Linked DNA regions of Homo sapiens: regions 1, 3, 4, 5, 6 and 7 are each linked to region 2. The links are contacts of gene promoters, found by promoter capture Hi-C in human tissues and cell types (Jung and others, 2019). All regions are on one chromosome and are shown on one strand. Each heading gives the region's core, a stretch centred on a gene start or on the middle of the fragment in contact. The rest is flanking DNA. Distances are from core to core; before and after follow the strand shown. Region 1 overlaps POLA2 (DNA polymerase alpha 2, accessory subunit). Region 2 holds the start of RELA (RELA proto-oncogene, NF-kB subunit). Region 3 overlaps PACS1 (phosphofurin acidic cluster sorting protein 1). Region 4 has its middle 12 kb from the start of EIF1AD. Region 5 holds the start of C11orf68 (chromosome 11 open reading frame 68). Region 6 overlaps GAL3ST3 (galactose-3-O-sulfotransferase 3). Region 7 holds the start of PACS1 (phosphofurin acidic cluster sorting protein 1).

Region 1 (3,324 bases), core at 825-3,324, 380 kb before region 2:
GTAGTTCTGACCTGTAAGATAGAAGAACTTGGCAGCGAACTCAAGGAACATTACAAGATTGAAGCTTTCACTCCTTTGCTAGCCCCAGCACAGGTAAGAGTTGTTCTAATAGTTCTCACTAATTAATATTACGTTTTTAAATCGATGACCAAGAGGCATCCTTCTTGCTTCCTTTTTCACTTCTTGTCTGTGTTCTAGTTTGAACATCTGTCTTGGTTGAATTTGGGAAAATGGGCCCTTCTGAAGAAAGATTTGTAAGTGCTGTCTGGTTTTGTGGCCAGAGAGTGATTTTCTTCCCACTTGGATTAGAGTCTTGCACATAAGCAGAGACTCAAGGCCTTGTTTCCCTTGGTGGTGAGTCAGGTAGCTCCCCGGGGATTTCCCACAAATAGAAGCATTCACGTATCGAGATAAAAGGACAGCAGCGACGGTGGGGTTTTCAGAATCTTGTTCTCTGGACAATGACTCACAGTCTCTCCCCTGGTTTGGTCTCTTGTTATAGACAAACTGCTGCCAATAGTATCTTTATATCATAGTTTAATCTGGCATATATACCAGTGCTTTCTCTCTAGAATGTTTTCTAATCTAAGGGGAAATATATTCTAGAAGTTTCTTTAAAGTACCTTTGTCAATGTTTACATTCAAAGAATGATCAGTTGGGGAAGTGATGCAGAACTGTGTCATAGAAGGAAGTGTTAGAGGACTTGGAAGGAAGTAATTGAGGGAAGGCAGGGAGGCACAATCACTGGGAAAGATGAGACTTCCTCTGTTTTCTCCCAAGAGTGGGAACAGAACAGAGGAAGCCATGGAGACAGAGATTTTAGCTCAATTAATAAAGAACTTCCTGTTAAGAGGTTGTATGGTATGTGGCTAAGGATATGGCTCTAGAGCCAAATTTCTGGTTTCAAACCCAAGCTTCACCCACAGTTTGACCTTGACTAAATTATCTAACCTTTCTGTTGCTTGTTTTCCTCATCTGTAAAATGGATACAGTAATATCCACCCGATGGTTGTTGCAAGGATTAAATGAGTTAATACATATAAAATGCCTAAGAATACATTTTAGAACAGTGCATGGTATTTAGTAAGCTCAAGAAATGTTAGCTATTATTAAGTAGTTATAGCTGCCCAAAGATGCAGTGGGCTGCCCTGGGGTGGTGAGGACAGGGTGGGGTAGGCATCCAGGGGCAAGTTCCCCTACACTAGAGATGCTCACACTTAGGCAGCCTCCTAGGAAGGCTCAAGTGCTGGGTGGATGGGTGGACAAGATGCCCTTTCAGAGTTCTTCCATCCTGAGAGTCAGTGATGACGCGGTAGTCACCTCAGGGTCAAAGCAATGCCCTGCCAAGAAATGTATTTGTTGTTTGCAGTTTGTTTTGCTATTCACCCTATCGACTTCAGATTTTGAGCTCCTGCTCCAAAGACTGTCATTCTTATGCTGTGACCTTCCTTTGGTAGGAGCCTGTCACTCTGCTGGGCCAGATTGGCTGTGATAGCAACGGGAAGCTGAACAACAAGTCAGTGATTCTCGAGGGAGACCGGGAACATTCCTCGGGTGCTCAAATTCCAGTGGATTTATCTGAGCTTAAGGAATATTCTCTGTTTCCTGGACAGGTGAGATTGGAGGAGTTCCACCAGAATGCAGGCGCACTCTTTACCCCTGTAGTGTAGGTGCTGTGCCATGCGCAGCTGCTCCTCAGTTCCTGTCTCTGCTGCCATGGGGTGCAGCTGGAGCACATGCCCCAGAGCAGACACCACTGTTGGGATTCCTGTTTCCCCCATGCTCTGACCCAGGCTCTGGGACCTGACTGCGCAGCCTCAAATCCCAACTCCCCGCTCCATGAGGTGCATGACTGTGCACAAGGTACTTAACCATCTAAACTACAGTTTCTTCACTCACAAAATGGAAATAATAATTCTTACCTCATAGGATTGTTGTGAAAATTAGATCACTTATATAGAGCATAATTATTATTACTAATGCAACGCCCTTAATTCGTTTTCTACAAAAATGCCCTAAGTTTATGATTACAGAATGAGAGTAGTTGGACAATGCTTTTAACTGCCTCAAAATAATGTATTCCAGACCTCATTGATCTCCACTGCTTAGCAATCCTGTTTGTTTTTGTCTTTCAGGTTGTAATTATGGAAGGAATCAACACCACTGGTAGGAAACTTGTTGCCACCAAACTCTACGAGGTACACAGCAGTACCCCCACTTGCCTCTTGGTTTGCTTCAGACAAAGTATGTCTGGAAGCTGTCTGTTCTAGAAACTGGTCCTTTTTAGGAGCCCATTTATTTGTTAGTCAGTTCTCCATCTGTAAGTGGGAACCCACCCCTAGGCCAGGGGTCAGCAAACCCTTTCTATAAAGGGCCAGACAGTAACTCTTTTAGACTTTGTAGCTATATGGTCTCTGTCACAATGACTCAATTCTGCCTTTGTCTACAAAAGCAGCCATAGAGGACTCTTAAACAGATGACTGTGGCTGTGTTCCCATAAAACTTTATTTAAATAGTGGGCTGCAGCCAAATTTGGCCCAGAGGCCGAAAGGTTACCTATCCCTGCTCTAGGCAACAATCCTCCAGAGATTTTCGTAGAATGCCAGGAAAAGTAGCAAGAAACCATTCTCTCCCATCCTTGCCTAGAAGTACACTGATACTTTAGGCACCTGTTTTGCTCCCACTTGTTGCTGGGTATTTTATGACAATTGAGTAGTGACCTCCCATTACCTGGGTTTCTTTGCCCTCTGAGCAGTATAGAAAAATGGCAGGTCCCATCAGATCCAGGGAGCAAGACAGAGGCACATCCTTCCCCTGCCCTCTCGCTCCTCCCCACTGTCCTCCCATCACACACCTGCACCACCCCCAACCTGGTGCCCTCCCCTTTCCTTACCAAGGTGATGCCTGGCGCAAGACCTTACTTGAGCTTTTCCCCTGTTTTTAGGGTGTGCCACTTCCATTTTATCAGCCCACTGAAGAGGATGCAGGTGAGTTTCGGTTCAAATATTGTTTTGCCAACAATGAGGATGGTAGACATGAGTCCAGGAGTGCAGTTTCCCAAGCCCAAGAAAGCTGCAGAAGCTGCTGAAGAGCAATGTGACCAAGCAGTGAGGGCGCCACCATCATGAGTTCGTAGGTTTTTTGTCACAAGACCCCTGGTCTGAGCCCAGTGAGCGTTGGTCGTGCTGTCGCCTGAGTTCTGCCTACATGAAGCATGTTGTTTAAAGACTAATGTTTAACAGGTATTTTTGAAGGTTGCCTTGGAAAGGAAAAGATGTACGATTTCAAAAAGAATTTATTTACATGCAGCATGGGCAGATGCG
Region 2 (3,046 bases), core at 547-3,046:
GACCTCCTGGGCTCAGGCGATCCTCCCACCTCAGCCTCCCTGGGACTATAGGCGCATGCCACCATACCCAGCTAATTTCTTATTTTTTGTAGACATGGGGTCTCACTATGTTGCCTTGGCTAGTCTTGAATTCCTAGGCTCAAGAGATCTTCCTGCCTTGGCCTCCCGAAGTGCTAGGATTATAAGCATGAGCCACTATGCCCGGCCTGTATATTTTTTTACAGCCTGTCTCTGTCAACTGCAATGTCAACTCCAGGGGAGAGTGCTGGTTCAATGGTTTTCTTCCTCAAACAAGAGACGTGACTCTGAGGGACTTGTCCTTCCAGCTACAGGGGTCAGGAATTCAGAAGTGATTAGGGACCCATCCGTATCCCCTGGAACTCATCTGCTAGAGTAAACGTACAAATAGATAATTTCAAGACAAAGGCAGTTTACTTGCAGAGCTGAGTCAGGGCAAGGAGTGAGGAATTCTGCCCTGGGTCCAGAAAGGAGTAACACTGTAGCGGCTACTTCATAGCCCGCCTCCTGTCCCCTCATGCTGGGCCTCCTAGCCTGCAGGGACCTCACCTGTGGATGCAGCGGTCCGGGCAGAGCTCAGCCTCATAGAAGCCATCCCGGCAGTCCTTTCCTACAAGCTCGTGGGGGTGAGGCCGGTGAGGAGGGTCCTTGGTGACCAGGGAGATGCGCACTGTCCCTGGTCCTGTGTAGCCATTGATCTGTCCAAAGTACAGAGGCCCAGACATCCAAACCTGACTCCCAAACACAGAGGGCTGGGGTTCCACAGTCCCTTCCCCGCACACCCTGGCGCAGTGCTGACCTTGATGGTGGGGTGGGTCTTGGTGGTATCTGTGCTCCTCTCGCCTGGGATGCTGCCCGCGGAGCGCCCCTCGCACTTGTAGCGGAAGCGCATGCCCCGCTGCTTGGGCTGCTCAATGATCTCCACATAGGGGCCAGAGGCCTGGGCTGGCTCTGCCAGGGGACACCGCAGCCCCATTAGGCGGCTGCCCCCACTGCCCTACCCCAGGGAGCACCTCCCCGACCGCCGCGGGGGCCACTTACCTGCCGGGAAGATGAGGGGGAACAGTTCTGAAAGGGGAGGGAGATCAGGGTCAGCACACACCCAATGCCCATTCTCACAAGGAGGAATCTGCTCTCCACGGAGAGGAGAAGCCAGGCTCCCTCCCAGGGGAACTGAGTCAGGACCTGCTCCCTAGAACCTGCGGTGAAACTAAGGGGTGGAGGAAAGGAACCAGAAACACCTGCTTCTTGAGGGAAAACGGGGTAAGGAATCCTTCTTCTCCAGAGGGAAGCTGAATCAGGGCCTGTTGTACTTTCTTAAGGAAAATTGAGGGAGGGCACGCCCCACCTCCCTCCAGAGAGGAAACTGAATCAGATGCGTTCTCCCCTAATAGGGAAACGAAGCCAGAGCTGCCCCCATGGACGGTGTGGAGGGAAACTGAGTCAAGGTTCCCTCTGCTCCCCCACCCAGGGAGGATGCTGAGTCAAGGGCCACCCCCTCCACCCAGAGGGGAAACTGAGTCAGACCCCTCCCCGCCTGCCCCGCCCCGCGCCACCATCCGGCAGGCCGACCGCTCCCTGCGCAGCGCCCGTCGGCGCAGGAAGGGGCGGAAAGCGGCGCGGGGGCTCCCGCCACAGCCGCGGCGGCCCCGGCGATGCCACCCCGCGGGGTCAGAGGGCGACCTCACCGTCCATGGCCGGGGTCCCGGGGGCGGGGCCGGGGTCGCAGCTGGGCCCGCGGCGTGCACTACAGACGAGCCATTCGCCAGAGGCGGAAATGCGCCGCGCGGCCCGCCGTCGCGTCACTGCCCGGAATCCGGCCGCGCCTGCGCGCTGCCCCGCCGCCGCCCGGCGCAGGGGCCGGGAGCAAGTGCACGCCGCGCGGAGGACGAAGAGGCTGCACGCACAGCCGCTGCCGGGGGTCGGGGCCAAGTGCGCGCCTCGCCGAGGACGAAGAGGCTGGCGTGCCCGGTGGCTCGGCTAGCTCCCGGGTCCCGGCCCCGCCTGGAGGGTGGGTCCGCCGATTACTCACTTTGTTTTTAGGGGATTTCAGGGCCCCCTCCCGCCGATCGGCGGAGTTTGGTGATGTCACTCTGGGCCGGGTCTGGAGCAAAGCCAGGGCTACTGGGCTGCGGCCGCCCGCCCCGCGCAGGGAAAAGCCCGACCGGGCCTTCTGCTCCGCAGAGGCCGGGTGGTTGAACTCCGCGCGGGTTTCCTAACCGCTAAAGGTGCCTTTCGGTGGTGGCTGTCTCAGAAGCACGTTAAAATGTCCTACCCACCCCAATCTAGATGCGGCTGTGGGGGAATGGGAGCGGCCGGACCTCCCAGCCTGACAGTGCATCAAGAGCTTTGCGGAGCCTACAGCCCGGATGGGACGACTGAGGCCCTCCCGCTGGCGAGCTGGCCGAGGGCTCGTCCCTCTCCAGCTAAAGCGCCAGCTTACGATACAGCCAAACTGCCGGCTCTCATCGGCTGTGGGAGCAGGAGGCCCCCAGGGGTAAATCCCGGAGCCTCGTCTCTGAAGCCTGGCGCTTGTGTCTCAGAAGGTGCGGGACCCACAGGGACACTTGAATCAGCAGGCTCACGACCCCCCACCCCCCTGCCCCCGCCTGTGTTTGCCCTGGACCTCCAGCTAGGGCTGACCACTAATTCTGTCATGTGACCCCACAGTGCAGGTAGCTCCCCCAAGACCAAGCCCAAGGCGCGTCCGTGTGGAGGCTGGGGCTGACGCACCCCCACCCCAGGCCTCATCCCCAAAGGAGGATGCTCCACTGCAGGGGGCGGAGTCTTCTCCAGATGGAGAAAGACTTTTTTATTTTCTCTGAATTCGTCTTAAATTAGGAAATCATGTGGGAATTGGAAAAGATTGGAAATTCTGACTTGTTTCCCAGGCTCTGAAGAAACAGGAAGAGAAAAGTGAAAATAGAGTTAGCACCCCGCCCACTCATTTCAGTTTCTCCAGTGGCTGGCCCTGATTAGAAAAGTGTTTACTTTTGGCAGGGGGCGGGGGAGGCCGACTTCAGGTGAC
Region 3 (2,998 bases), core at 355-2,854, 460 kb after region 2:
ACAATAATTTATAACAATAACTATGTATTACATAAACTTAGTGATAAAGCAGCAGTAAGGTTTGAGAGAACTGAATCCAATTTTGCGAGAAATTCTGCTGTGGGTAGCATGCTATCAAATGTATTGCATACTTTAGAGAAATCTTTAATGAAAGGAAGAGTCAGTGTGACAAACTTCATTGTCTTATTTTAAGAAATTGTCACAGATACCCCAACCTTTAGCAGTCACCATCCTGATCAGTCAGCAGCCATCAACATTGAGGCAAGACCCTCCACCAGGAGAAAGATTGCAACTTGCAGAGGGCTCAGAAAATTGTTAGCTTTTTTTTTTTTTTTTTAATGAGACGGAGTCTTGCTTGGTTGCCCGGGCTAGAGTGCAGTAGCATGGTCTTGGCTCACTGCAACCTCCGCCTTCTGGGTTCAAGCAATTCTCCTGTCTCAGCCTCCCAAGTAGCTAGGATTATAGGCACGTGCCACCATGTCCAGCTAATTTTTGTATTTTTAGTAGAGACAGGGTTTTGCCATGTTGGCCAGGCTAGTCTTGAACTCCTGACCTAAGGTGATCCACCTGCCTCGGCCTCCCAAAATGCTGGGATTATAGGCGTGAGCCACCACGCCTGGCTCAATAAGCCATTTTTATTTTTTTATTTTATTTATTTATTTATTTTTTTGGGACAGAGTTTCGCTCTGTCGCCCAGGCTAGAGTGCTGTGGCGTGATCTCGGCTCACTGCAAGCTCCACCTACCGGGTTCATGCCATTCTCCTGCCTCAGCCTCCCAAGTAGCTGGGACTATAGGCACCTGCCACCGCGCCCGGCTAATTTTTGTTGTTTTTAGTAGAGGTGGGGTTTCACCGTGTTAGCCAGGATGATCTCGATCTCCTGACCTCGTGATCCACCCACCTCAGCCTCCCAAAGTGCTGGGATTACAGGCGTGAGCCACCGCACCCAGCCCATTTTTAAATTAAAGTATATACTTTTTTTTTTTTTAAGACAATGCTATTGCACAGTTGATAGACTACTGTATAGTGTAAACATAACTTTTATATGCACCGGGAAATAAATAATTTCATGTCACTTGCGTTATTGCAGTGGTCTGGAACTAAAGCCACAATATCTCCAAGGAACTGTTTACTTGCTGTCTCGCTATCAGACTGTGAGACTGTCAAGGGCAGGCATTCTGCGCAGCTTTGGCAATACCGTCTAGTTGTAAAAAAGACGGAACTGTTTCAGGCCATGGGCATTCTAGTGGGAAGACAAATATTTAATCTCAAGTGTGCAAAATGCTGCCATAGAACAGGAGTGCAGTGGAGCATAATAGGAGCTCTGGACCTTGTCTGAACACATAAAAGAAGCCTTTTTCCTAAGGAGTGATTGCTTAAGTTGAAACCTGAAGGATGTGTGGGAATTAGCTAAGTGAAGAGAAGGAAGAGTTCCAGGCAGAGAAAACTGTGGACATAATGGCTTTGGGCAAGTTACTCAGCTTCTTCTCTGCTTCAGTGTCTTCATCTATAAAATGGGAATAATATAACCTAGAGTTATATAGTTAGGGTTGTTGTGATCATAAAGACAGTATTTTAAGTCATCATCTTCTAATATTTCTGAAGTGGGGCATAATTGGTTCATTCAGGATAACTTCTGGGTCCACGTTTATGTATTGAATGGCTAAATGTATGGATCTGCTTACTGCACTTTAACCTTGTTCTTTACCTGCTCTGAAGCCTTTCTTGCATTTTAATGACAAGAACGGTGTATTTTGCCTTTCAGTGAGTTTGTTAATTATGGAGATCAAACTCTGCCTTTCATTACTGCATAAGTCTCATGGTGTGTCAGACATCTTAGGTCAGTGTGTGTCATCAGTTAGAATGCTTTCACCTTCAAGAAACAGAAAAGCCAGCTCAATGACTTAAACACACAGATGTTTATCATTTCAGAAAACAAAAGTCTGGGGCAAGGGTGAGTCCAGTGCTGGTTAACTGAGCAGCCTGGCAAAGGCATCAAGGAGCCAAGTTCATTTTGCCCTCCTGCTTTGTCATCCTCAGTACAGGCTTGCCCGCTGGCTCCCCATGGTCTCAGGTGGCCTGTCGCAGTTCCAGGTGCCACAGGGAGACACCAGAACATCCCATTGAGGAGGAGGAACTGTTTCTTTCCATGTCTGTCTCTTTATTGATGAACATTTGGGTGGCTTCCACCTTTTGTCCATTGTGAATAATGCTGCTATGAACATTGGTGAACAATAAATTCTTTTTAAAAATACAGCATCTAGGGGCTAAGCTATGAGGATGCAGAGGCATAAGAATGATACAATGGACTTTGGGGACTCGGGTGAAAGGGCAGGAGGCAGGTGAGGGATAAAATACTGCAAATTGGGTACAGTGTATACTGCTTGGGTGTTGGGTGCACCAAAATCTCAAAAACCTACGGAAATAAAAAATTAAAGTACCACATCAATTAATGCGTAGACCAAATCTTATTGCAATTAAATTTCTACTTTTAGCATCATTTGCTACAATGAAGTTCTAGTATTTGAAATATTTTGAGCCACTGACTTGCTGTTTAATGGGATTTGATCCCATAGTAAAGAAGATATAAACCAAGTAAGTCAAAAGGATCTTAGAAGCAATTTTATTCCATCCTCTATTTTGAAGATGTTCTGGATTCAGAGTGATTTTCCAGGGTCAGAGAGCTAAGTCATGTTAAATAATTCAAAGTGTATGAAAATACACATTACTCACAGATTCAAGTAGAGTAACCAGGGGTGTCTTTTGCCTCTAGTCTTACTCTAACCAGTGTCTAACTATGCCTGTGTAGATAAAATAAAATAGAAAACTGGGATAATTCAGGTATTCAAGTAATTGAAGAAAATCAGTCCTGTTTAAAATATCTGGGCAGGCCGGGCATGGTGGCTCATGCCTGTAATCCCAGCACTTTGGGAGGCCGAGGCAGGCAGATTACTTGAGGTCGGGAGTTCAAGACCAGCCTGGCCAACATGGTGAAACCT
Region 4 (2,954 bases), core at 122-2,621, 330 kb after region 2:
TGCTGTTGGGGCATGTGGACCCTTTGATTGGACCAAGAATGCAGTTCCCTTATGAGACTGTAACTAGGTTAGATGCTTTCGGGTTCTGTAGCCCAAGGCAAGGTGCTGACTTGCTGGTTTTACGTGCTTAGGGTGACCTCTGCTGGTGGCTTCTCTAAATGTTGGCAGAATACACAGCCAGGAACTGCCGGTACCGTCTCACATCAGCCAGTAGTTGGAGCCACATTGCTATCAGAAGGAAAAGAGTGCTCTTCTCATACAAGAATTATTAAAACAAAGTGATGCCCAATGCTGTTCAAGAATGAACAGCCTGGTCTGGTTAGTAACAAAGGATTCTGGTACTTGGCAACTCATTGTGGATTAGCAAGGGTTAAATAACAAAGTGGGTATTTTAGCGTCATGAGAATCTATCACAATAACTGGAAGAATTGCTGCCAGTACTGGCACCTGGTGTACAGCCCTGGGCACTGCTAGTTCTTTTTTTTTTTTTTTTTGGTTGGAGTCTTGCTCTTGCCCAGGCCGGAGTACAGTGGCGCCATCTCGGCTCACTGCAACCTCTGCCTCCCCTCCTGGGTTCAAGCGATTCTCCTATCTCAGCCTCCCAAGTAGCTGGGATGACAGGCGTGCACCACCACACCCAGCTAATTTTTGTATTTTTTTAGTAGAGACAGGGTTTCACCAGTTGGCCGGGCTGGTCTCGAACTCCTGATCTCAGGTGATCCACCTGCCTTGGCCTCCCAAAGTGCTGGGATTACAAGCGTGAGCTACCGCGCCCAGCCTGTACTGCTAATTCTTCATTCCTCAGTGTCACCAGATGAGGCATACGGCATGCCTCCACACCTCCCACAGGGGCTTTTGGATTCTCTTGCAAATGTCACCAGTGGATCAAACACACGCACAGCATGAACTGCTGGTGGTGTCCGTGGTGTCCTGACTTCTTGCTTCATCAGTGATTTTCTGAGGGCGGCTCCCACTGAGGAAACTGCCCACACTTCTCTGTGTGCTTCTCAGACACAGGTCAGTAGAGATGTTTGGGCCTTGAATGAAGACAAAACCCACGGTTCTGTGGCCCAAGTCACTTTCCTGGGAGACAACTGGGCAACTACTAAAGACGAAGCACCAGGCCGGGCACGGTGGCTCACCACCTGTCATCCCAGCACTGTGGGAGGCCAAGGCGGGTGGATCACCTGAGGGCAGGAGTTCGAGACCAGCCTGGCCAACATGGTGAAATCCCATCTCTACTAAAAATACAAAAAAAATTAGCTGGGTGTGGTGGTGCAGGCCTGTAATCCCAGCTACTCGGGAGGCTGAGGCAGGAGAATTGCTTGAACCCTGGATGCGGAGGTTGCAGTGGGCTGAGATCGTACAATTGCACTCCAGCCTGGGCGACAAGAGCGAGACTCCATCTCAAAAAGTAAGTAAGTAAGTAAATAAATAAATAAATAAAAATAAATAAAAATAAAGCAAACCATGTAAAAAGAAAAAAAGTGCACATGGAATTCGGACAATGGTTGCCTTGGGTGGGACAGCAGAGAATGGGCTGGTCAGGGTAGGATGGGAGGTGGAGTATGTTACTTGGGTTATTGTTAAAGTCCTAGCCTTTATTTTATGGTGGTGGGTTTGAAGCTGCTCACATTATTAAAAATAACCAACCAAATATTTAATTATTCTTGACTTTTAATTTTTTATTGAAAGGGAGTCTCACTATGTCACCCAGGCTGGCCTCAAACTCCTCAAGGGCTTAAGCAATCCTTTCCCTTCAGCCTTTCAAGTAGCTGGGATTACAGGCATGTGCCACCATGCCCAGCCAAAATGTTTAAATATAGGCCAGACTCAGTGGCTTACGCCTGTAATCCCAGCATTTTGGGAGGCCGAGGCGGGTGGATCACCTGAGGTCAGGAGTTCGAGACCAGCCTGGTCAACATGCTGAAACCCCGTCTCTACTAAAATATAAAAATTAGCCAGGCGTGGTGGTGGGCGCCTGTAATCCCAGCTACTCAGGAGGCTGAGGCAGAAGAATGGCTTGAACCTGTGAGGCACAGGTTGCAGTGAGCTGAGATTGCACCACTGCACTCCAGCCTGGGTGACAGAGCAAGACTCCATCTCAGAAACAAAACAAAACAAAACAAAACAAAGAAAGGAAAAAGAAAAAGAACTACAGGATAAACCCAGAGGGATTGGTTTGTTTCCCATTGGTTATGAGAAAAAAACAAAAACAAACAAAAACAAAGGGAGTATAAGTGGGAAATACGGTAAGAGCAGCAATTAATGAAATACCAATACAAAGAATGACAACAAAAAGCTGGTGCTTAGAAAAGACTAATAATGACCTTCTGCCAAGATTGACCAGCTATAACAGAGAGAAGGCACAAATAAACAATATTACATGTAAAAAGGGGGACATAACTTTGGATACAGCCAAGATTACAAACATAAGGCAATCATACAAATAACTTTGCGCCAGTAAGTTTGAAGCCATAGCAAACATGAGAAAATATGGGGGCTGGGTGTGGTGGCTCACGCCTGTAACCCCAGCAATTTGGGAGGCTGCGGTGGGCAGATCACCTGAGATCGGGAGTTTGAGACCAGCCTGGCCAACATGGTGAAACCCCATCTCTACTAAAAATACAAAAATTAGCCGGCCATGGTGGCACATACCTGTAATCCCAGCTATTCGGGAGGCTGAGGCAGGAGAATCACTTGAACCCGGGAGGCGGAGGTTGCAGTGAGCCGAGATGGGGCCACTGCACTCCAGCCTGGGCGACAGAGCAAGATCCTGTCTCAAAAATAAATAAATAAATAAATAACATGAAAATATTTTTCCTTGAAAATATGACTGAAGAACAGAACACCTGAGTAATCTATTACCACTGACAATCTAATTCCAAACCTACCTACCCACCCACCCAAAAAATCGCCAGGCATGGTTGGTTTTACAGCAAGCTTTACCAAAA
Region 5 (3,301 bases), core at 510-3,009, 260 kb after region 2:
GCAGAAGTTCAAGGGGACTGAAGATGCAGGTAGTTCCCAAGTGACCTAGGAGTCCCCAGAGCTGGGGGGTGTGGCCTTCATAGGACAAGGAGGAAGACAGGAGGATCCAACCCCAGCATGGAGGGGGGAGTGGGCAGTCTCCCCAATTTGGCCCCCCTAGGTCAGTTCCACGTTGTTGGCACGGTCAAGCACTCGGGAGCCACGGGCACTACCCCCAAGCTGGAAACGGCTCTCATAGAGAGTGGGGCAGAGGTGCCAGCGATTGGCCCGGTAGATGCCCAGGTAGGTGTAGACATCAGGCTTGTAGGTGAGCAGGCACTTAATGCCCGCTGCACGGATGGCTGAATCCGCCTCCAGTACACCCAAGCGGTCCGTGAAGTCGTCCGTGTAAACACAGATGACCTGGCGCCCACCCTCCTTGGCACGTGGGCTCACCTTGGCCACCTGAAGCTGGCCTTCAACCACGGCCCGGGCAATGCCAGCCCAGGCGTGGTCCAGCTTGAAGCCCGGTGCCAGATGCATAAGCCACTTGCCCGAGAGCACGTGGTGGGTGATGGCGAGCTGGCGCAGGGTACCCGGTGTGATGGGCCGCCCACTGGTCTGCAGAGCTTCCCAGGCTGCCTGCAGGCCCTGCACGTCCCCGGAGTTGGGGCTGTAGCCCTGCCCATACACTGCAATCCAGCCCACAGGCTCTGAGTTGGGTGAACCGGGGTCCCCATAGCGGGTAACTTGGGATGGTGGGTACTTGGCCAGCCAGGCATCCAGCTCAGTGGCAGGCGTTGTGCGGGCATCAAACACTAGCCAGGGGTCCATGTCAGCTGCCATGGCCTCTGCAGCCAGGTGCTCGGCGGTGAAGCCATCCTCACGGCCACCTGGAGAGCCCTCCTCTTCCAGCTCCTCACCTGGTTCCATCCTGCTGTGAGGGAACCGAGTCAGGGCAGGGTCTGAGACAATAACTACAGATGCCAGGCACTGGATTAAACTGTGGCCTTGAGTAAGAGTTACTGTCGATGCGCCTCAGTTGCCTCATCTTTACAATGGGATAACAACTGTTCCTGTCCCGTAGATCTGCTATGAAAATTAGATGCCTGAGGAGTCAGCGCTCCAGAAGGGTTGCTGCAGTTATTACTATTCTCCTTGACTTACAGAAAAGGAAACTGAGGCTGAGAAAAAGGACTTGCCCAAGGTCACACCTGCAGTGCGTGGCAGGGCCGAAGGGTGAATCCAGGCGTGGGAGCAACCAGCCCCAGCTACACCTCCCGGCCCTGCCAAGGCCCCCTTTTCCTGGCAGGTATCCGGTGCGCTGGCATTTAATAGAGGAACGCAAAGAAGCGCACGTTCGCGCAGCTCCCGAGGCCGGCTCTGTAAGGCCAGGCCTCCCAGGCAGGCGTTATCGGGCCCACTTACAGACGAGGACGCTGAAGTCCAGAGAGGTTACAGGCCGTTCCGAGGCCAATGGGGCGGTTCCCAGACTCGAACCAGGGCTTGTTAGAGCCTGCAGGAGAGCCAGGCTCCGGCCGTGCCGCGCCCGCCGCCATTAACGCCCACGGGCCCGAGCTGTGCTCCCGCCCCGGCCCTGCCCTGCCCCTCCCGCCGCCCGCAGTCACCTCCGGCCTTCGCTGCGTTCGACGCCGGCCCAGCCCCGGGCCCGGCTCCGCTCCTGCCGTGGCTCCGCGCCACCGCCACCGCGCCCCACCCCCGCCACGGCCGCCGCCGCCGCCGCCGCCATCTTAGCGCCGCGCCACCTCAACAACAACTTTATAGACAGGCGCAGCCACAGGGCGGAGCCGCGGGCCTCAGCGGCCGCAGCGGCCGCGCTGTGGGGCGGGGCCGGCAGGGGAAGGGGCGGGGCCGACGGGGAGGTGCTGACTCGGGGGCGGGGCCATCGCGGGAACCCCGGGAGGGGCGGGCCGCGGGGGGCGGGGCCAACGTTCGCTCTTCTGGCCTTGGGGGCGGGCGGGAGCGGCGGTCCAGACTGGGGAGGGACGCGCACCGGCCAGGAGGCTTCAAGAGGAGGGCACTAGGGCCCTGCGAGCGGCGTCTTAACCGGCGGCGCTAGGACTCCGCGGGAAACGGCGGGGGCGGAGCGGGCGGCACCAGGACCCAGGGGAACCGCGACGGGCGGGCGGCGAGCAGGCCCGGGAGCCGGGAGGCTGCGGGCGGCGGCGCTGGACCCGACGCGGCGAGAGAGGCCCCGAGATGCCGAGCAAGAAGAAGAAGTACAACGCGCGGTTCCCGCCGGTGAGCACGTGGCAGAGCCCGGCAGGAGTGGGCCCGGCTCCCGGGTGGCTTGGGCCCAGTTCCCGCTGGGCAGGCGGGCGCGCCGCGGTGTTCGGGGGCCTGGACGCCCCGCCCCCTCCATGCCCTCCCCGCGTCCGTGTCCCCCGCCCCCTTTCTCCGGGGATGCCCCTTCCTCCCCCAGCACCCCCTTAGGGGACGGTGGCGACGGGGTCTGAACTCTGCTCCCCCACCCGCAGGCGCGGATCAAGAAGATCATGCAGACGGACGAAGAGATTGGGAAGGTGGCGGCGGCGGTGCCTGTCATCATCTGTATCCTGCCGGGGGCGGACCGGGTCGAGGGGCGTGGGGGAGGGAGGCAGCGGGTCGCCCTCTCCTGCCCCGGAGTTCTCCTTGACGCTCCTCAGCCCGGGCGCTCGAGCTCTTCCTAGAGTCGCTGTTGAAGAAGGCCTGCCAGGTGACCCAGTCGCGGAACGCGAAGACCATGACCACATCCCACCTGTGAGCGGCGAGGAGCCGGGAGGGGCCGGCGGGTTTGGCGCGGGGAGTTCACACACTGAGGAAGGCAGAGCCTGGGTGGCGAGGGAGGTGGGCGGCAGCCGGGACACCAGCAAGGCCACAGACTGGCAGAGGAGAGGCTGGGCTTCCAGGCAGAGGGAGCCACCTGAGTAAAGCAGGGCAGGCCCGGGAGCGGAGATCGGCCCGGGCTCCAGCCTGACATCTGGGGCCCCTTGCTGCCACCCACTGCGGGTTTGGGTGTCTGGGCCCCTCTTGAGTGCCAGCCCCTCCTCACCTCTTCCAGGAAGCAGTGCATCGAGCTGGAGCAGCAGTTTGACTTCTTGAAGGACCTGGTGGCATCTGTTCCCGACATGCAGGGGGACGGGGAAGACAACCACATGGATGGGGACAAGGGCGCCCGCAGGTGGGGCCAGGGCCTGGCATACAGTGGGGAAGGCCAAGGCCACAGGGCTTGGGGGTGGCCAAGGAGTAGGGAGCACTCCGGGCAGATGGACTGTACCTTCCCAAAGGGGCCGGAAGCCAGGCAGCGGCGGCCGGAAGAACG
Region 6 (2,964 bases), core at 260-2,759, 380 kb after region 2:
TGAGCAGTTCTGGACAGCCCTCAGGCCTCTTGTCAAAATCACCAACCAGCTGGGAAGGAGAGGGTGGCCCAGCGCTGGATCCAGCCTATCAGCGCCGTGCCCGAAGGCAAGGTTCAGCCCACGATCGGGAGCGGGGGCTCAGATAGGGAGGCGTACCCCAAAGTTCAGCGAGGGACTCAAGCCCCTTGAAAAGAAAGGGCTCTCATGGGGGCAGGACATGGAGGCAGCCCCTGGCTGGACTCCTGGGAGGGCAGGGCAGGACCCATACTCCTGGAGGCCTGCGGAGCTCAGGGACCTTGAGGGCCGCGAGGCAGCACTCGGATGGGCCGAGGCGGGGGATTGTCCAGGACGGGCTCGGGCCGAGCCCGCGCACCGCCCCGGCGCTTCTGCTTGCGCAACAGGTAGTTCGAGTACTGGACCTCGGGCATGGCCAGCTTGAGGCAGGCCTCGGTGGCCGGGCCGGCGCCGCCGCCGGGCAGGTCATAGCCCATAATGTCCACCTTGCGGCTGGGCTGCCACGGCTGCAGCTGCTTGGTGCGGATCTGCGCGGCAGGCCGCAGCAGTGGCTCGTCCCCGAAGCAGCGCCGCAGTAGGCGCTGGCGGGCCTCGCGCAGCTCGCGCGCCTCGCGCTCCACGCACGCGCGGCCCGCGCGCGCCACGTGGCGCCAGAAGGTGGCGTTGAAGTGGTCGTAGAGGCCGGCGTCCAGGGCGTTCCAGGTGCGCGCCGCCCGCGCCAGCGCCGCGGGGATGGCGGCCAGGCGCGAGCTGGCGGCGCGCGCGTTGAGCTTGGCGTAGAGCACGTCGTCCAGGTCCCAGGCCAGTAGGCGCCGCAGCAGCACTAGCGACTCGTCGAAGTACTCGGCGATCATGACGAGCGAGAAAACCTCCTCCACCTGGCGGATGAGGCCCGCCAGGTAGGCGGCGTCGTCGCGCGGGCTGCGCTCATTGTCGCCGCCCAGGTCGTAGGCCAGCGTGTTGTGTGCGAACATGGCGAAGTGCTCGCCAGCGCGGTAGTATGCCTCGGGCGCGCGCAGGAAGGCCTCGAGCGAGGCGTTGGGTACGCGCCGGAAGGCCGGGCAGTACTGGTTGTAGTAGCTGAAGAGCGACTCGAACATGGCGGCCGGCTCGCGCAGGATGGTGACATAGACGGTGCTGGGCGGCATGAGGCGCTCCAGCTCCGCACGGTCGAAGCGCAGGTGGCTGGCCAGCACGTGCGGCGGCCGCGTGGCCGGGTGCACGAAGTGCGCCGAGAAGTTGCGGGGGTAGCAGAACTGGTGCTCGCAGCTCGGGTGCGGCAGGGCCACCGTCAGGTTGTGGCGCTCGGCAAAGCGAAACAGGATGTTCTGCACCGTCGTGCCTGCCGTCTTGTGAGTCTTCAGGAAGGCCACAGTCATGTGCTTGGGGCGCGGCGGCGAGTTCCGCAGAGGAGGGCAGCTCAAGGGGAACAGCTTGGGGTACCTGCCAGGCCCAGGGAGTGTGCGGAGAGGAGGGTGTGAGGGGGCTGCCGCTTGACCCCTGCCCTTACCCAAGGACTGTGGGATGCCCCACAGCGCGGCCCCGCCTGGGCTGCACTCATGGAAAGGTCGAGGGCGGTGCTTGGTAGCCTCTAAGATGCCCTCTATGATCCCTGCTGCCCTCCTGGTATTCATGCCCTTGAGTATTCCCCTCACCTGAGTTAGGCTGGACTTATCATTGCATCTAAAGAAGAGAAGAGGGCAGAAATGATGGGATGTCACTTCTTAAATTTCATCATAGAAAGACTGTGGCTGGCTAGTATCTTGGTGTCTTTCACTCAATCTGGGATGACAGATGATGGGGGAAGCAAGCTGCCATATAGTGGGCAGCCCTATAGGGAGCTACCACTAAGTGGGAAAAGCCCACAAGGACCTAAGGCCCTCAGTCCACCAGCCGGCTTGAAGACCTGAAGCCTGTCAAAACCACGTGAGTGAGCTTGGAAGCTGATCCCTTCCAATCAAGCCTTCGGATGAGACTGCATCACCAGCAAACACCTTGGTTGCAACCCCATGAAAGACCTTGGTCCAGAAGTTCCCAGTAAGCCACACCTGGCTTCCTGACCCAAAATAACAGATGTTTGTGTTTTCAGCTGCTAAGCTTTAAGATAATTTGTTTATGTAGAAATAAATAAGGGACAAAGACCCCTGGAGATCTTTGAGGAATCCCACTTTGTATATGTAGAAACTGAGGGCCAAAAGGAGAACAATCACTTACACAAAGTCTGGAGACGACTCACATGGTCACTAAATCCTTTTGCTCTTTCTCATTTTTACTCTTTAACTGGCTCCTCACTTTGTAGATGGTTGGCACTGGGCTTTGCAGCAACCCATTGTTATGTTTCTCTTGAGGCTTCTAAAGCCTCATTAATTCAGTCATCAAATATTTTTTGGGTGTCCACTATGTGCCAGGTTAATGCTAGGTTCAAGAAATACAGTAATATACAAAAACAATCCTAGCCCTCGTGAAGCTTTCATTTCTGTTGCTTCATTCTTAAAACATGGGTGTTTGGGATTTCAAACCAAATTATCTGGCAAGGGGGGCTGGGCGCATTCACACCATTCTCAGGGGCAGACAGTGTAGAAAATGGGGACATGAAGTCTCCGAGAGGTGCAGGGATTTGTTGGGTTCACACAGTGAGTCAGGAGTAGGGTTGGGGTTCCCATGAATCACATGGTATCCTGTGTGAGGGTGACTGGCTGTGTCACACATATCATGTCTCACTTTATAGATGAGAAAACGGGGGCTCGGAGAAGTGAGGGGACTTGGCCTTGCCCAGCACTACGGAAGTTGTGAGAAGTTGTTTCCACTGGGGAAATGCTTAGCTGCATGCTGTGGGGAGTTGAGCTGGATTCGGATCTCAGCTAACTGATTCTGTAACTTTGAGCAAGTCACTCAGCCCTTTCATTGAAGAGCAGTCCCTGTCCAGGGAGGCTGTGTGGCCCTAAAGGG
Region 7 (3,189 bases), core at 237-2,736, 410 kb after region 2:
TGCCTGGGCTTCACACAAGAACCACCTCTCCCGCAGTTCCCAAGGACTTGTCATTTCATGTTCTTATTTTAGACCTGTTTTGTAAATAAAGCTGTTTCCCAAGGAAAGAGATGAATATTTAACACTCCTGAGCCTCCCTCATCTCCTTTTAGCCCCTTCTTGCAAAAGGACTAAAATAGTCTCTTTCTACAATCACTGGGCTGCCCCAGTAACCACGAACATAAACTGGGATTAGACGGCGCATTTGACTGGTGGTGACGCCAACCCCAGGCTGAAATCTGTGTTTCACCACTGCCCTGCTTTGTAGGAAGGCTTGGGGGAAGTACCTCTAGGTCTGGTTTGACCTTACTACTTTGTCCTTGGGGAGTAAAAATAGCCAGATTAGCGCCCTAGCGCGGCAGAGGAAGTAACAGTGGGCTTGGGAAGTAGGCCAGGGCAGGCCTTCCCAACTGACCTTGTGACCAGAAGTTCAAGTCCTTACCTGTGCGACAACATAGCTCAAAAGCTAAATTGTCTTGAGTCCATATGAACCCTTGGGTTCAAGCAACACTAGTCGCTGGGGTTTGGGATTTGTATGTGGGATGGGGGGACTTACTTTCTCCAGGTTGTAATCTGGTCCTGAGCAGCCTTTCTGACAGACTAGAGCAGGCTGGATCACTGGCTCCCATGGGCATTTGCCAGCCTGTGGGGAGGGTAGTCATGCGCTGCTGTTGTACTACTGTTGGTGTTTAAGTGCACCAGTGGAGGCGCTCACTTGCCGGAGGGTTCAAGATGGTCTCGGGGTTGTGGGGGGCATGATCCAGATAGGACGTGGCAGCTGAGCTAGGCCTTAGGAGGAATGGAATTTTAGAAATTTGGTAAGCAACAAAGCACTGGCACTCTAAAGAGGCATTTGGGGGGTAGGGAAAGAAGAGGAAGGTTGGCTCCAGATGGGCCCCGGGGTAGCTTGAGAATTCACTTATGCGAAGAACCTTCTGGACTCCAGGTCCCTGAGCCCCCGCTTGCCCTCGGGGCGGGAACTTCCCGGATCACAGGCACCCGCGGTGGCAGCGGGCCCCGGGTCTCCGCCGACCTCTCTGTTTGCCGGGGCCGCAGGGCAGGGCTAGGTCGGCAGGCGGAGAGCCGGCTTCCCCGGGCAGACCCCCACCGCTGGGGGCGGGTTCCGCATTGGCTCCGAAGACCCGAGGGGCCGAGGCGCGCTCCCGCGGCGGCCCCCTCCCTGCAGGGACCGAATCCCGGAAAAGCCGGGTTTCCGCTGGCGGGGCCGCGGCCGGCCGTGGGCGGGGAGGGGAGGAGCGGGGGCAGACTGGCAGCGGATTTGAGGGCAGGACCCGTGGGCGCGCGCTGGCCACAGACCACCCCTTCTACTCCGCGGGAGCGAGGGGCGCGCGTGGCTGCACGCAGGGCGCGAGCGCGCCCGGCCCGGCCCCTCCGCGCTGGGTGGGGCCGCGCGGGCCGGGCTCCCCGCCCCCTCCCGGACACGCCCACCCGTGTCGGCCTCGCGAGCCGCAACAGGCAGCGGCGGTCGAGCGCGAGGCCCGCGCGCCCAGAGGCCCCGCGCGTGCGTGCAGCTCGCTGGCTGCTCGCGCTCGGGCAGGCGGGCTGAGGAGGCTGCCGCGCCCCCGCCGCCGCCGCCGCGGGGGAAGCCTGGGAGCCAGATCGGCGTCGCCTCGGCCTCCGTAACCCCCGCCTAGCCGGGCCATGGCGGAACGCGGAGGGGCGGGCGGTGGTCCCGGAGGCGCCGGGGGCGGCAGCGGCCAGCGGGGATCCGGGGTCGCCCAGTCCCCTCAGCAGCCGCCGCCGCAGCAGCAGCAGCAGCAGCCGCCGCAGCAGCCGACGCCCCCCAAGCTGGCCCAGGCCACCTCGTCGTCCTCGTCCACCTCGGCGGCGGCTGCCTCCTCCTCGTCCTCGTCTACCTCCACCTCCATGGCCGTGGCGGTGGCCTCGGGCTCCGCGCCTCCCGGTGGCCCGGGGCCAGGCCGCACCCCCGCCCCGGTGCAGATGAACCTGTACGCCACCTGGGAGGTGGACCGGAGCTCGTCCAGCTGCGTGCCTAGGTGAGCGCGGGAGGGTGCGGCGGGGCGCCGGGGGAGCGGGGTGGCCGCCGGGGCCCAGCCCTCCCCGCCCCAGCGCCCATGGGGTCCCCGCCCTCCATCTCCCCGACTGTCCCGCGGCCCGGCCTGGCTCCAGCCAGGCCTCCCGGGACTCCTGCCACGGGGACCCGCCCTCTCCTGGCAGCCCCACCTTCTGCCTGGGGCCGGGACCACCCTTCTGTCCTCCCCGAGGGACCTTCTGGCCTCGGCCCCGGGCTTTCTCCGATTGGGCTGACCGAATCCGGCCTTCCTGGCAGTCAGTTTCCCTGAGTAAGTCACTCTCCTGCCTCGCCGGCGCCGGGAGCTGTACATACATGGATGTGGTATAGATCTCTTGATATTATTATTTCCCAATAGACTCAGCATGTGCCAAACTCGATTGTCACCTCTTGCAGGTAAAGCTCATATAATCACCCTAGGGGCTTCTCATTAGCCTTCGGCACACATGTTCATTTGAACTTCATATTACACACGTTCTGTCCCAAGCGCTAGGCTCTTAGTTTTGGGGCCCTATTTAATGTGTCCTCAAGTGTATTTTTACCTCCCCTCCCCCACTAAAACTGGTCCCAGAATCTCCCAGCTCTGCAGGGCTGTATGAAATTACTGCCTTGTTCCTAAATTCAATCCATTGCTCTCTGTCTGTTGGAACCATCTGGGGACTTTCCTTCCATTGGCAAAATAGGCCTGAGTTTGGGAATATTTTCTGTTTTTGTATTGGCAAGGCAGTCTGTCTCCAACTCTGGGGACAGGGTGCTGTGTCTTACAGTTTGCCACTTGAATAAGACGGTGTGTGGAGCTGGTTTCACCCAGAAAGCCCAGAGAAGTGCCTGGAGGTGTTCTTTTTTGTCACCTTGTAGCTGAGTTGATTCTGTTGCCTTGAAGTCTTGGGCTGTCTCCTCACTGTTGGTTAGGCAGACGGATGTGTAAGTCAGAGTTAGAGAGGATTGCTGGGCTCCCCCCTCGACTGTCTTCCTTTCCCCACCTTTATTCTGGATAATATTGTTTTATATATATATCCCAGATAGGAATGATGAGAGTACATCTTTCTGTTTCGCTCAGCTTAAGGAACAGAGCATTATCGCTTCTGTTGAAGCTC

What was found. Contacts are between HindIII fragments. The study calls those that stand out against the background at their distance.
Region 1: a contact is called between a fragment that was not itself captured here and the fragment with the promoter of RELA in region 2, in 1 of the 25 tissues and cell types used here (hippocampus).
Region 3: a contact is called between a fragment that was not itself captured here and the fragment with the promoter of RELA in region 2, in 1 of the 25 tissues and cell types used here (hippocampus).
Region 4: a contact is called between a fragment that was not itself captured here and the fragment with the promoter of RELA in region 2, in 4 of the 25 tissues and cell types used here (aorta, dorsolateral prefrontal cortex, heart right ventricle and 1 more).
Region 5: a contact is called between the fragment with the promoter of C11orf68 here and the fragment with the promoter of RELA in region 2, in 1 of the 25 tissues and cell types used here (spleen).
Region 6: a contact is called between a fragment that was not itself captured here and the fragment with the promoter of RELA in region 2, in 2 of the 25 tissues and cell types used here (dorsolateral prefrontal cortex and heart right ventricle).
Region 7: the fragment with the promoter of PACS1 here is called in contact with the fragment with the promoter of RELA in region 2 in 1 of the 25 tissues and cell types used here (adrenal gland).

Annotation. Positions count from the first base shown.
Region 1 is chr11:65,279,534-65,282,857 of GRCh38, forward strand. POLA2 (DNA polymerase alpha 2, accessory subunit) reads left to right here. Exons shown (of 18, transcript NM_002689.4): 7 at 5-93; 8 at 1,459-1,614; 9 at 2,137-2,199; 10 at 2,946-2,988. Among named protein-coding and RNA genes, the nearest start is that of POLA2, 19 kb to the left of the region's middle. RefSeq lists an enhancer at 1-936. The HindIII fragment of the contact is 6,666 bases long and covers 1-3,324 here.
Region 2 is chr11:65,661,120-65,664,165 of GRCh38, forward strand. It overlaps RELA (RELA proto-oncogene, NF-kB subunit), which reads right to left and starts at 1,797. Exons shown (of 11, transcript NM_021975.4): 1 at 1,707-1,797; 2 at 1,060-1,086; 3 at 818-969; 4 at 568-716. The coding sequence starts at 1,713. It overlaps RELA-DT (RELA divergent transcript), which reads left to right and starts at 1,887. Exons shown (of 4, transcript NR_183625.1): 1 at 1,887-2,029. RefSeq lists silencers at 1,484-1,543, 1,604-2,013 and an enhancer at 2,104-2,303. The HindIII fragment of the contact is 29,460 bases long and covers 1-3,046 here.
Region 3 is chr11:66,122,870-66,125,867 of GRCh38, forward strand. The region is part of intron 1 of PACS1 (phosphofurin acidic cluster sorting protein 1); the gene reads left to right. Among named protein-coding and RNA genes, the nearest start is that of PACS1, 54 kb to the left of the region's middle. The HindIII fragment of the contact is 8,035 bases long and covers 1-2,998 here.
Region 4 is chr11:65,988,995-65,991,948 of GRCh38, forward strand. No RefSeq gene overlaps it. Among named protein-coding and RNA genes, the nearest start is that of EIF1AD, 12 kb to the right of the region's middle. RefSeq lists an enhancer at 368-437. The HindIII fragment of the contact is 5,676 bases long and covers 1-2,954 here.
Region 5 is chr11:65,917,303-65,920,603 of GRCh38, forward strand. It overlaps C11orf68 (chromosome 11 open reading frame 68), which reads right to left and starts at 1,760. Exons shown (of 2, transcript NM_001135635.2): 1 at 1,608-1,760; 2 at 1-916. The coding sequence starts at 1,729. The coding sequence ends at 157. It overlaps DRAP1 (DR1 associated protein 1), which reads left to right and starts at 2,124. Exons shown (of 7, transcript NM_006442.4): 1 at 2,124-2,241; 2 at 2,478-2,550; 3 at 2,646-2,739; 4 at 3,041-3,160; 5 at 3,267-3,301. The coding sequence starts at 2,200. RefSeq lists enhancers at 877-1,796, 1,797-2,717 and a silencer at 1,514-2,583. The HindIII fragment of the contact is 24,812 bases long and covers 1-3,301 here.
Region 6 is chr11:66,042,220-66,045,183 of GRCh38, forward strand. It overlaps GAL3ST3 (galactose-3-O-sulfotransferase 3), which reads right to left. Exons shown (of 3, transcript NM_033036.3): 3 at 1-1,458. The coding sequence ends at 288. Among named protein-coding and RNA genes, the nearest start is that of GAL3ST3, 5.5 kb to the right of the region's middle. The HindIII fragment of the contact is 5,576 bases long and covers 1-2,964 here.
Region 7 is chr11:66,068,786-66,071,974 of GRCh38, forward strand. PACS1 (phosphofurin acidic cluster sorting protein 1) reads left to right here and starts at 1,487. Exons shown (of 24, transcript NM_018026.4): 1 at 1,487-2,057. The coding sequence starts at 1,702. SF3B2 (splicing factor 3b subunit 2) reads left to right here. Exons shown (of 22, transcript NM_006842.3): 22 at 1-523. RefSeq lists silencers at 1,047-1,666, 1,677-1,726, 1,877-2,006, 2,017-2,166, 2,227-2,431. The HindIII fragment of the contact is 13,254 bases long and covers 1-3,189 here.